Linked DNA regions of Homo sapiens: all the other regions are linked to region 1. Evidence: promoter capture Hi-C in 16 types of primary human blood cells and fetal thymus (Javierre and others, 2016). All regions are on one chromosome and are shown on one strand. Each heading gives the region's core, a stretch centred on a gene start or on the middle of the fragment in contact. The rest is flanking DNA. Distances are from core to core; before and after follow the strand shown. Region 1 holds the start of RTP2 (receptor transporter protein 2). Region 2 overlaps LPP (LIM domain containing preferred translocation partner in lipoma). Region 3 has its middle 13 kb from the start of TPRG1-AS1.

Region 1 (4,307 bases), core at 1,656-4,155:
TTGACAAGTCTTCTCTAGATCCCACTCTAGCCCTGCAGTGGGGACTGGAAAAGAGGGTATTCATTCCCATTGCCACTCCACACACACACACACACACACACACACACACACACACACACACACACACACACATATATTTTCTCTCTCTCTCTTACATGCACAGAGGCCACTTGGCGTAACCTGGGCTTTCTAGAGTCCCAGTCTCAGGAAGTGTTGTGGGTGGTAGCCTGGGGCTCATCTAGGCAAGCCCCACTCACTCCGCCCCCACCACTGCCTGCACACTTTCAGTGATGCAGCACTCCTGACCTCCAGGGCAGTTCTTTCCTTCCCTGAGATGAGCCTCTTCCAGGCCTCTGTTATAGAGGCTTCACAGGCAGTCAGATGTCCACTGGGCTGTCCCTGTCCTCATCACTGGCCCTTTCTGGATCCATTGTATGATGGCCTTGAAGGACTTCTGATTAGGAACTCAATTCAATCCAACAGACACCATTCAACACCTCCCATATGCCAAGCACCACTCAACCCAGGCTATGGGATAGAGGTGAGGCCAAGCCTGGCTCTGACCCCTGAAAGCCTGATCACATGAGCATAGAACAGTACCCAGAATGGCCCAAGGTGGGGTTGGCAGGTCAGAGGAACCTAGCTGGTACTGAACCAGGAGAGGTTCCCCGCCCCCAGTGCTGGGTGAGAGCTGCAGGGCATCTGCCTGTTTAGAGACAGAGTGAGCCTGTGCACAAATAAGCTCATGGGCAGCAGTTCTTCAGCTCTTCCTGAGGCCAGCTGGGAGCCACAAGTCACCAGCCAGGAGTAAGAGGAGCTGACCTCTGAAGCAAGAGGAGACATGAGCTTGCTGAGCTCAGCCCCGAAACTCTGGATCCTGGGCACTCAAGTTTCCAGGCATCTGCACCTCTTCCACCAGGCAGTTCAAATGCTTTATGTTTTCAGTCTCCTTCTACACCTTTTTACATCAAACCAACCCAGAATTGCTTCACCTACATCAAGTTAGGCCTCACATCTTAAATTCAAAAATATCAGATCTGGGGGCAGGCGAGCTTAAGAAGCATCTAGTCAGCCCTTTATTTCACTGAGAAGAGACAGAAGCCCAGATAGTAAGAGAGGCATCCATGTACACACAGCTAGTTAGAGGCAGAGCCAGTGCTCAGCACATAACAGGTACCCAATAGATGCTTCTTGAGTTGATGGAACTGACATGAATCAGCCAACCTCTGGTTTTCTGTCTTTTTTTCACAAGGCAGGTTTACTCCAATAATTCCAGGTCTTGGGACAAGAGTACAAACGTAAGCTCCCTACCCACATCTTGCCTCCTCTGTTCCCACCCTCAGCACCATTCTGCACCATGAGAAGCTTCACACACATACACGTGAACAACCCAGCCTTTGTGTCCATGTTCTGGCTACATCTCCAGAGCACAGCCACTTACTGGCCTCTCTTGAATCCAAGGACACAGGAAAAAGGCCTGCACAGACACTACAGATGGACTTGAGGTAGTCTGGGGAGGAATTTCTGTAGTCCCAGTCCCCAATCATGATCTAAAAGGAGGAAAGGCATGTGGACTTTAGACGGCCTCGTCCCCTTGGCCTCAAGGACTCTTTGCCCTGTGGTAGATGTGCAGCTCCTATAAAGAGTGGGACCCTGGGCTCTAAGTTCCTAAAGAAAGTTTTGCTCAAAGCTAAATCTTTTTATCACAGGTGCATAGATAATAGAGCTAGAGTGGATTGGATCTATTATCTAAGACCAACCCCCTCATTTTGTAAATATAAAAACTGAGAGCCAGAAAGGGAAACAGACTTGCCAAGTTTACAAGGCTACTTAGCTATATAGAGCCAGTTCGTAGCACACAGCAGGTGGTCAATAAATGTTTATGTATTCAGATCAAATTGGATTAATTCACTAAACATATCTAGGAACAGAGCATAGCTGTACCCCCTGCATTCCCCCAACTCCTAGATTAAAACTTTCCCCAATGGACCTCATGGCCTCCTTCCTTCAGTTCCAACTCACTCTAAATGTCAGAGATTGCAGGGACATAGATGATATTACAGCTCTTCATTTAATGTGGACAACTAAGACCCAAAGATGGAACATAACTTTCTCAGGGTCACCCAGGGAGTTAGTGGTATTGCTAGGATTAAAAGCAAGAACTCTCTGACCCAGCCGGCTGTCTTTGTCTTTTTCCCCATCTGAGCTGACACCAGAATAAGCCCGCGACTGGGCTCTGTCTCTCCTTGGAAAGTACCCCACAGCTGTGACCCAGGGGCTGTCTGCAAGGTCCCTCCCCACTGAACCTCTCACCTGCCTGAGGCGTGCTGCTCCAGGTACTGCTTCCAGCCAGGGGCCAGCTCACTGGGCTTGAGGTTGGGGTCTATGATGAGCTCCCAGCTGTCCGCTGGCTTTGCCACCTCCATCTTCTCATAGAAGACTTTCTTCCACTCACAAGTGGTCAAGCTGGTACACATGGTCCTGCTGGCAGAGGTGGCAGTTCGAGCTCAGCCCTGGTGAGAACACAGAAAGAGCACGGATAGGTACGGGACAATTCAGTGTCTACGGTCAGAATCCTCATCGGCAGGACTGGGAGTAAACAGGACCCAGCTCCCTCCTCTGTTACCCTGGAACCTGTTACCATGGTAGCCAGGCAGGGCACCAAGAGTGAGGGCTGGGGAGAAGGGAAGCCCCAAGGGGGAGTTTCAGGGCCCTGAGTTAGGCTTCAGAGGCAGCGCTGGGTAGGCCTGAGAGGAGCAAGCACAGTGGGAGGCCCAACCTCAGACCACACTCATCTGGATTTCCAGAGGTCTCCAGGAGGCAAGGACTATTTGGTGGCCCTGCTTCACCCAACTGCTCTTCTAGCATTCTCCACATCATGTGCTATGGTAAGTACGACACCCTAGGAAGTCAAGGAGAAATGAGGGACAGGGAAAGGCAGAGCCTGCTGCTTCCACACCCCCTGATATGCTGTGACCATCACTTACCATGTGCCTAGCACAAACCGCTTGACCTGTGTGCTGGCCAAAGCAGATCAGATCAGGAAACTGAAGTTTATGCAACCCCTAAGTGGCTCATCCAAGATTCAGATCTAGGCCTTCTGAAACCGAGCTCATTTGTTTATTTATTTTAGTACTATTGTGCTCCTAACAGGGAATTGAGTGAGAAGTAACATCTCTTTGCCCAGGGCAATCTTAGACCAGTTGGTGAGCTAGAATGTAATTTCATATGCCATGCAAAGCACAGTAATAACATTTCAGATTCATAGCGTCATAGAACTGTTAGAGCCCATATTCAGTTCCTGGTCCCAAGCCAGGCTAAGGTGGCTGCTGGGGTAATGAGTTTGTTCTGTGCTGCAGGCTCCTGCTGCCTCCATTACTGCTGAGCTGGAGCAAGAGAGCATCCGTAGCTCTGTGATGCCCAATTCAAATTCTTTAGAAACCAGAGGGGAATCTGACTTCAAATTTGGTAATCCAAGTGAAGACACGGTTACCTGAAGGGAGGCTGCCTTGAGCATGGAAAAGACCAGGCATATGGCTGCTTACCCTAGCTTTGGTCCAACTTCCAACTGTAATCATCTTACGATTCTTTAACCCGGAAGTCTGGATCCCTAGACACGCAGAGTTCCAACAGTAAAGAGCTTCAAGAAGTGAAACAGGTTGCTAAGAACCGGAAGCTCTTGGTGTTGAGTTGCCAAGTGGTTTTCAGGAAGTGTGAAGTCAGGGACAATGTCACTGGATTCTCTCTTGAAATGAAAAGTGTTACTCTAGCGGCTTTGTGCTAAAGACCTCAGAAAGGACACAATTGTCTTTGAACCATTGACTGACAGCTCTAGAAGAGCTCTTTTATTTTTAAAAATCTGGTTTATTTCTTGAACTCTTCATTTCTTAACCAAAATTTATTGACATTGAATTAAAACAACTGAGGCCTGGAAATGGAAAATTACTGGCCCAGGCTCTCAGGACTGGGTAGCTCAAACCTCACTGGGGATTCCCTTAGAAGCCAGTTACCAGACCAGGTGAGACAGAGGGATCCATGAATGGCCAGGAACTGAACGAAGCTGAGATGAGCTTATGGCCTGGCCTAGACCCTCGTGCCAGGAAAGAACCTCTGAGAAATAGTATACCCTTGTTCCCAGAACAAATGGCAATAAAGGAAAAACAGAAAGAGGATGAGAATTGTCAGGGTTTACCTGTATTTTCTTTTTTCCTCAAATAATGCAATCCCCTTAGGCCTAGTATCAGGTTTAATTTAGCATAGCAGCTTCTAAGCAGAGACCAATAGAATTCATCTTTCTGTGTAACAGC
Region 2 (4,477 bases), core at 1,696-4,195, 1.1 Mb after region 1:
TGTGGATGTTCAAAGGAATAACAGACTTGGAAGCAATGCTTACTGAATTTTGATGTATTAAAGGATGTCAAGTCCAAGAGAGAGATAAGGTCTCAGAAGACAGAACTAGAACCATGGGGTAAGCAGTTAGAATGAGGAAGCACTATGGCTCAGTAGGAGAAAGAACCTTTTAGCCATCAAAGCGATCTAGAAATTAAAGGACTGCCTTGGGATCTGCCTGTCACTGAGAGCTGGCTGCAGAGGTTTTACAATCAGGGCTTTTGTAAAAGGAACTAAAATTTGAGTTTGGACCCAATTATCTTACATTCTAACTGGATGTGTAGAATCTCCAAGAAGAAAGACTCTTCTGTACTGTTTTATAGATTTTGCCTTCCACTCCAAACATCCTGAGTCATGTTCCTTTTATACTTGCATGTGAGATGAGAGTCAGAGCACTGACCTCAAAGCCAGCGACCGGGTTCTACTGTTCCTTTCTGCAAGAACTTAGACTATGAGACTCAATCCCCTCAACCGATTAATGTAAAATCCCCTCCATGCCAATCTTGCAGAGGATAGGGGTGGCTGTACTGGTGATCTTGCTGGGGTAATGGGGTAATAGTACTGGGGTAATGACGGCAGGAGTGGTGGTTCTATTGCTGCTGACGTTATGAACCTGCTTTCTCCTCCACTTTGGCTTTAGCAGGACTGAAGTACTCCTTGGTGTGTTCTTATCAAACCCTTTTTTTTCCAGGCCGCTGTGCTCGCTGTGGAGAAAACGTAGTTGGGGAAGGTACAGGATGCACTGCCATGGATCAGGTCTTCCACGTGGATTGTTTTACCTGCATCATCTGCAACAACAAGCTCCGAGGGCAGCCATTCTATGCTGTGGAAAAGAAAGCATACTGCGAGCCCTGCTACATTGTAAGTTCCAGATTTGTTCCTCAAGCACTTTGCAAAGATGTCTTCTGTGGCTGAATGCCAGTCACTCTAGATAGAATATAGCCATCAGATCTTTGCTTCTTCCTAGACTTCAAAATGTGTGTGTGGGGTGTGTGTGTGTGTGTGTGTGTGTGTGCGTGCGCGCATGTAAATTAGCATATTGTAATTTTTTTCTACACATCCCCCATTCATAAGCAGTCAGAAAGGTGTATTAGCATGGGACTGCCATTCAGTTAGTGGTCTGCTGGGAAGATCATCAGCCTGTGGCTTTCTAGCATGTATGTACAAGCTAAAATTTTCTTTCTTAAAGCATCAGAAAGCTTTCCAAGTAGCTGAGTCACACCTCTTATAAGATCTCACCCTACATTTGAAGTGCCCAGTAGTTTCAAGGAAACTTTACAGAATCTCTGGACTTGTCAGTCCTCTTCCAGAATACTGGGCCCTTTGAGTCCATTTTTATCTACCAAAATGTTTCTTCCCCCTCTTATCCAACAGGTTTTTAATGATGCAAACAGGGGAACTGTTTATTATAAAGCACCTTAAAGAGAAATGAACAGTAATGCTGACTGAGCTAATCATTGTTTTCTTTTATTACAGAACACAAAAACTATATTTTAATAATATACCTGGGTAACTAAAAAATTCTCAGTCATGTTACCTTAGCGTTTTACAATGCTACTTACTTAATCTACCTGTTAAACTATTCTCTGGTAGAGTAATTTGATGAATGAACACAGACTTTTTTCATCTATTGTAAATTTCTTTGCTATCCTTCAGCATGATTTTAATCTTTGTTTAACACATGTTGATGGGAAAAGTAGTGTTTTTTGTTTGTTTGTTATGTAAACCCACAAAACAGTCATGGTTTGTCCCTCAGTGCCCAGAGATTTCAACATAAAAGACACCTTGGTTTCTTTACCAAGGTATTGGGAGTCATACTTGGCTTTACAAGGTTCACATTTATTGAAGACGTTTTTGGCCTGGTTGGTATTTTCCTATAACTTGGCAGCTCTAACCCATTGTAACCTTGGGGTCTGTAGCACAGATCTGAAAGTTCATCAAGATTAAGGCTTCGTAGGATTAAATATGGCTTTGCATCTGTCTTAGGTTCAATTTTATTTCGTTTTCTTTCCAAAGGTAACTTAATACATGTAACATCATTTCTTTCCAAAGGTAGCTTAAACACATGTAGAGCCATACAGTGGTAGAGTTGGAAAAAAAATCTTAAAATCATTTGCGTAATTACTCTCTTTAGCAATGAGAATGCCAAGACATACAGAAGAGGAAAGCGACTTCGTATGACCTATCATTAGTGTCAGAACCAAGGCTGCATTCCGTTATTCACGCTCCACAGTCTTAGATTCTTTGCAGATGCTACATGGTTTTCATTTTCCTAAACATAAAGATAAACAAAGTAATGTACTGTTGATCTGGAAGGAGCAATTATGCATAAGCGAAAGTCTAGTAAACAAAAGCTTACCTCTTTAGAATATAAGAATATTTCAAATATCTTTGAAATCTTTATTGAAAAAAGAAAGGCATTACATAATTCCTTGCCTTTTTAAACAGACTAAACCGGGTGTCATTCACAATGGCTTGGCACCACGTTTATGAAATTATTTATTGCCACGAGCCCTAAGGTAGTGATGTTGGCAGAGTGTGTAGAGGCACCCAGGGTTGTCCTTACACCAAGTAAACACATACTGCTGTGTTTTTTTATAGCTCCTGTCTATTTTTTATCCCTTTTTGACTCCATAGTTGATTTTTGCTACTTTAATGATGCTACTGTGGCAGCAGCCTTCTTCAGTTGTTTTGTTTCAACCCTTGTTAGCTTGAAATCATATAGACAGTATTGGGAAACAGTGTAACAGGGTGGGAAGAACATGAATTTGAATTTCGTTACGTCACTTAGTGCCTCCCCTCCTTGGGAAAATTATTTACTCTTTCTAAGTATCAGTTGCCTCATCTATATAATGGGGACGATGGCAGTTATTTTCCATGAAGAAGAAATGAGACAATCCTAGTAAAGCACACTGGGCCTCTTCAGGAAAAGTAGTGGAATAAATGTTATTCTGGGATTAACTTTAATGATGTTTCTGAAACTGTTTAATATTTCTGAATGTGGGAACCTTACATGTGCAGTGAAATTCACTGGGCTTTAGGAAATTATTATAACCTTTCAGACATACTCCTCGCATTTTTACATGTTTGCTTGCTTTTCTGAGTGCGTAACAAAACTGGAGAAGGTCTAATCTGATTAAATAATAGGTTTCTACAGTGTGTGGGCTCAAGTTTCTATCTCCATTCCAGGCATAGTATGGGTCTCTGTGATTCTGTAGGATGCCAGCCCCTTCTTCTTTGGTTTGTTGTTACTATACTATGCTTATGAGAAGGAAAACTATCCGGGAGATATTTAATCGCGTACTTGGAAGAACTGGGTGAATTCAAATAATGGAAATTCTAACCATTTTTTTTTTTTTACTTCTTTCCCTCATAAGAACATTTAATCAAGGTTTTTCTTTAATGAGATCTATTCGTGGTGACTCTAAAATGTAATTTAATTCTTATCAGAATTCAGTTAAGCTTTACCAAAGACCCTTGTTCAATATTGATTCGAGTTCAGCACAGTCCTCAAGCCCTCAGATGGATGTATCAGAACTTTAATTTCTTCTGAACTTTTATATGTCCAATAAGCTGCATACTAGAAGTGTAAGGAGGTTGAGGAAATTGGGCAAATGAAATAAAACAAGTTGGCTTTGAAGATAGTTTGCATTAAGGAGAATCCTAGAACTATGCGTCTCTCTTGGAACCAAAAGCCTTAGAACAGGAAGCATATTCTGTGTGATCCAGCAAAATTGCCTTTGGTTACACTGTTGAAAACTGATGTCTAAAAGGTATTCCATACAAACCAGAGCAAACCTAGCCCTTGGCCATCAGTCAGTGTGCCTGTCTTTTTTTTTTTTTTAATTGATGGAATGAGAATATTCAAGATAGTGGCTTAATTATTTTTGTATAAGGACCAGCATGTTTGATACTCTGAGTTCAGGAATGAGACCAGTCTAATGTAAATTAAATTTACTTCTGCCTAAATTGGTTGTTGATCAACTTAAGATCCTATTAAAATTAAAAATTTACATGATTTTGAGGGAAAATGCACCAGTAATGTCTGCAGCTTTGGTTCAATGATTTTTAATATTTTCCTGTGGTTTATTGAGTTTGTTCTTAATCTTTGTGCTTAAGTAGTTATGATTAAACAGTTTGATTCAGTATAGCATTGTAATTCTCTTTAATCATTTTACATATTTTGTTTTCTATTTTTTATTTATTAACATAATACAAATGTTCATATAGTTTTGCATTGTTAGTATTCATTTTTAGATTTTTATCTGTTTAGTTTTACATTTAGATTACACACTTCATTTTAAAACCATTTGCCAGTCAAAATGTATTGTGTGTTTTGCAATCTTTTAGAATTGTAAATAACATGCCTATAGATAGTTAATAAAAATTTTATTTTTTATTTTGAATTACATCCTTAGCATAAATTCTTTGATTTATA
Region 3 (3,997 bases), core at 1,483-3,982, 1.2 Mb after region 1:
TTCTTATTTTATTTACTTTACTCAACAGCAAATACATATTGAGCACCTTCTATGTGCCAAGTCCTATTCTAGGCACTGAGGAACTTATATTGTCAATTCATCCCTTACTAAAATAGATAAGGATTTAACTCAGTTAAAATAGTTTTCCCTCCAAGTACAGTTATATCCTTAATTTCTTTCTTTCTTTTCTTTTTCTTTCTTTCTTTTTTTTTTTTTTTTTTTTTAAGGTGGAGTCTTGCTCTAATGCCCAGGTTGCAATGGTGTGATCTTGCCTCACTGCAACCTCTGCCTCCCGGGTTCAAGCGATTCTCCTGCCTTAGTCTCCCAAGTAGCTGGCATTACAGGCTTGCGCCAACATGCCCGGGTCATTTTTGTATTTTCAGTAGAGACAGGGTTTTGCTGTGTTGGCCAGGCTGCTCTTGAACTCCTGACCCCGGGTGATTCACCCGCCTTGGCCTCCCAAAGTGCTAGGATTACGGGCATGAGCCACCACCCCCGGCCTATCTCCCTAATTTCTTTCTCTTTTTTTTTTTTTTTTGAGACAGAGTCTTGCTCTGTCGCCCTGGCTGGAGTGCAGTGGCACAATCTCTGCTCACTGCAAGCTCCGCCTCCCAGGTTCATGCCATTCTCCTGCCTCAGCCTCCCGAGTGACTGGGACTACAGGCGCCCGCCACCAAGCCCGGCTAATTTTTTTGTATTTTTAGTAGAGACGGGGTTTCACTGTTTTAGCCAGGATGGTCTCCATCTCCTGACCTCGTGATCCACCTGCCTTGGCCTCCCAAAGCTTAATTTCATTTTGAAAGAAGATATTTGAAAAAAATAAGGCAGTTTACTGGGGATGGCAATTATGATAGGAAGAAGAGATTTAGAGAGTCAGACACTGATTGTTTCGTAAAGGCAGGGGACTTTGATTAAAAAAGTGAAAGTAATTTTCTGAAATGTCATTAGAGGCCTAAGAGGACTATGCACAGTGAAACACCCTGAAGTGGGTGGTTCTATAGCACTGAGACACCTCAAGTGTGCTCTACCAAGTGTAGCTGGGGTGGCACAGATACACAGAGGCCTCTGACTAGGATGCCCAGGGGCCTGGAGAGGAAGCTGCTCATCTGCAGGACTTACCCTTGGGAGGTTCCTGGGCTGGCAATGCCTGGGAGAAGATAACCCAGGATATAGTCAGGGGTCCTGGATTTGAGACCCAACTCTGGTACTTAATAGTTATTTGTTTCCTTGCCTGCCTAGACTCAGTTTTGTTATTTGTAAGTTGGCAATGAGACTAGCTTTTCTGTGTTGATGTGAAGATGAAATTATATATGGATGCACTAACTGTAAAGTGCTATAAATTGAATGATTATTATTGGAGAGCATGTGCAAAGAACATCTAAATGAGATTTTATTCACTGTGCATTATTAATTTTCCTTTCTAAAAATCAGTGTCTCCTGCCACTAATTTATCATTATAATAATTCTTATTCATTTTAGATAATGAGAGAAATCACAATGATGCTTTCTGGTGGAATGACTCCTTTAGTTAAATAAATCTCCAAGTGCTTAAAGGTGAATTTCCCTCTGGCTTTAAGAGATTGATGGCTTATACTATCTTACAGTTAGTTGAAAAAAGTTCATTGTCCGTTTTAGCCTTGGGGAGTATGCTCTCAAACTGTAGTCACAAAATAATTTCACTCTGCTGTATAAGAAGCTCAATTCAAGTAAACCAAATTTATTGAAAACTTCCTCTTGCCAGGAACTATGTTAATGAAGGACCATTCAGAGATGAATGTGACCTTCACCCTACTATTTAGGGGCTCACTCTGGTGGAACAAGTAGACACACATACAAAATTCAGTGCAACATAATGAGGGATCAGTTCTAAAATAGAAGTATTATTTTGTGCCATTGGAAATGGAAGAAAGAAAAAGCTAATTCTGAACTGAGGGTATGTGGGACATACAAGTAGAGAAGGTACAGTCCAAGCTTGTATAATCCATGGCCCGTGGGCCTCATGCAGCCCAGAATAGCTTTGAATTTGGCCCAACACAAATTTATAAACTTTCTTAACACATTATGAGATTTTTTGGTGATTTTTTTTTTTAAGACAAAGTCTCGCTCTTGTTGCGCCAGGCTGGAGTACAATGGCATGATCTCAGCTCACTGCAACCTCTGCCTCCTGAGTTCAAGCGATTCTCCTGCCTTAGCCTCCCAAGTAGCTGGGATTACAGGCACCTGCCACCACGCCCAGCTAATTTTTGTATTTTTAGTAGAGACGGGGTTTCACCATGTTGGCCAGGCTGGTCTCGAACTCTGACCTCAGGCGATCCACCTGCCTCAGCCTCCCGAAGTGCTGGAATTACAGGCGTGAGCCCCCACACCCAGCCGGTGATTTTTTTTTCAAGCTCATCAGCTACTGTTAGTGTTAATGTACTTTATGTGTGGCCCAAGACAATTCTTCCTCTAATGTGGCCCAAGGAAGCCAAAAGATTGGACACCCCAGAAACAGTCTTGAAAACTTACTAGAACTTTGGCAGAATTAGAGAGGGAAGGGCCTGTTGGAGCAATGGAGAGCTTAGAGATTTTGGGGGGAAAAATCTTTTTGGGGGAATGGCAAGGGTCTGAAGCTTATTGGAAGACAGTCATGAACAAGCGGTCTGGAGCCAGACGAGTGCGGAGGACCCTTGAGAAACAGATGAGGTTTGGTTTTATTCTGTAGACAAAAGTGCCTTTGGAGGTGTCAGAGTAGATCAGATCAGAGCACAGCTTTTGTGAGAAAAGTGTGTCAGTCGTAAGCAAATGTACGGTGCCTTGCTTTCTTTTCCTGCTCCCCAGCAGGCTGGGTTTTAGGAAGGAAAGGCTGAGCAAAAGCTTAGGAAATGGATCTGACTGACTACTCCCACAAACCATTCTTGACCTTCTTTTGTAAATACCCAATTACCTGTTCATTTCCCCAATTAACTCATCAGTGAAATCAAATCAATCATTATTAATTCTAACTTTAATAAACATTTTTTAGTTTACATATATGATGCTCTTCCTCAAATCATAAATAACTGCATGATGTGTGTGAACTTTCCAAAGGTAGTTTAGGTGGAGAAAAAAATGACATTCAGTTAACAAGCTTATCAGAAGCTGAATCATTACAAATGACAGATATTAAAAATGTAATTAGAATATATATTGTCTAGGAAGACATGCCATATTAATTAGGGGTAAAAAGCCTATGTTTCAGCTCTCAGAATATAAAGTTGAAAGAAGCCTGTGGATTAATATCCATAATCATGGGCAGCGTTGTAGCATGGTAGGTTAGCACAGCACTGTAGTGTCAGAGCACCTGAGTTAAATCCTGGTTCTGTCCCTGTGAGCTATGTGACCCCAGGTAAGTATATAATCTCACTGAGCTTTAGCTTACCCACCTGTAAAGGTTAGATGAAAACAGCATTCTATCTCAGAGTTGCAAAGACTAGGTGAGCTAATATATTAATAAGTAGAACTCTCAGAACAGTGCCTGCTGTATCATAGATGCTATGTAAGTATTACCTATCATTATTTACTTTTTTTTTTTTTTTTTGAGACAGGGTCTTGCTCTGTCACCCAGGCTGGAGTGCAGTGCACAATCACAGCTCACTGCAGCCTCAACTTCCCAGACTTAAGCTATTCTCCCACTGCAGCCTCCTGAGTAGCTAGGACTACAGGTGCATGCTGCCGTACTCAGCTAATTTTTGCATTTTTGTAGAGCTAGGGTTTTGCCATATTGCCCAGGCTAGTCTCAAATTCCTGTGCTCAAGCAATCCTCCCTCCTTAGCCTCTCCAAGTACTGGGATTACAAGTGTGAGCTACCTTGCCCAGCCAGCTATCATTATTATTATTTATTTTCCCTTCACCTGCAAGGAAGAAGGGAACCCAAATGTGCTTGCGGACTTACTATGTAACACTTTTATCATTATTTCCTCATTTAACTTAATATGCTCACTCTTTACATAGGTTGTTATTATTAACCAAGATTATA

The links. The method cuts DNA at HindIII sites, captures the fragments that hold promoters and counts their contacts. A CHiCAGO score of 5 or more calls a contact.
Region 2: a fragment that was not itself captured here is called in contact with the fragment with the promoter of RTP2 in region 1 in 1 of 17 cell types (neutrophils); the score reaches 6.0 in neutrophils.
Region 3: a fragment that was not itself captured here is called in contact with the fragment with the promoter of RTP2 in region 1 in 5 of 17 cell types (fetal thymus, naive B cells, total B cells and 2 more); the score reaches 8.5 in fetal thymus.

The regions. Positions count from the first base shown.
Region 1 is chr3:187,699,652-187,703,958 of GRCh38, forward strand. It overlaps RTP2 (receptor transporter protein 2), which reads right to left and starts at 2,906. Exons shown (of 2, transcript NM_001004312.2): 1 at 2,314-2,906. The coding sequence starts at 2,477. It overlaps LOC100131635 (hCG1645011-like), which reads left to right and starts at 2,715. Exons shown (of 3, transcript NR_034062.1): 1 at 2,715-2,888. The HindIII fragment of the contact is 5,389 bases long and covers 1,364-4,307 here.
Region 2 is chr3:188,759,383-188,763,859 of GRCh38, forward strand. It overlaps LPP (LIM domain containing preferred translocation partner in lipoma), which reads left to right. Exons shown (of 12, transcript NM_001375462.1): 9 at 731-900. Among named protein-coding and RNA genes, the nearest start is that of MIR28, 73 kb to the left of the region's middle. The HindIII fragment of the contact is 1,108 bases long and covers 2,392-3,499 here.
Region 3 is chr3:188,932,478-188,936,474 of GRCh38, forward strand. No RefSeq gene overlaps it. Among named protein-coding and RNA genes, the nearest start is that of TPRG1-AS1, 13 kb to the right of the region's middle. The HindIII fragment of the contact is 244 bases long and covers 2,611-2,854 here.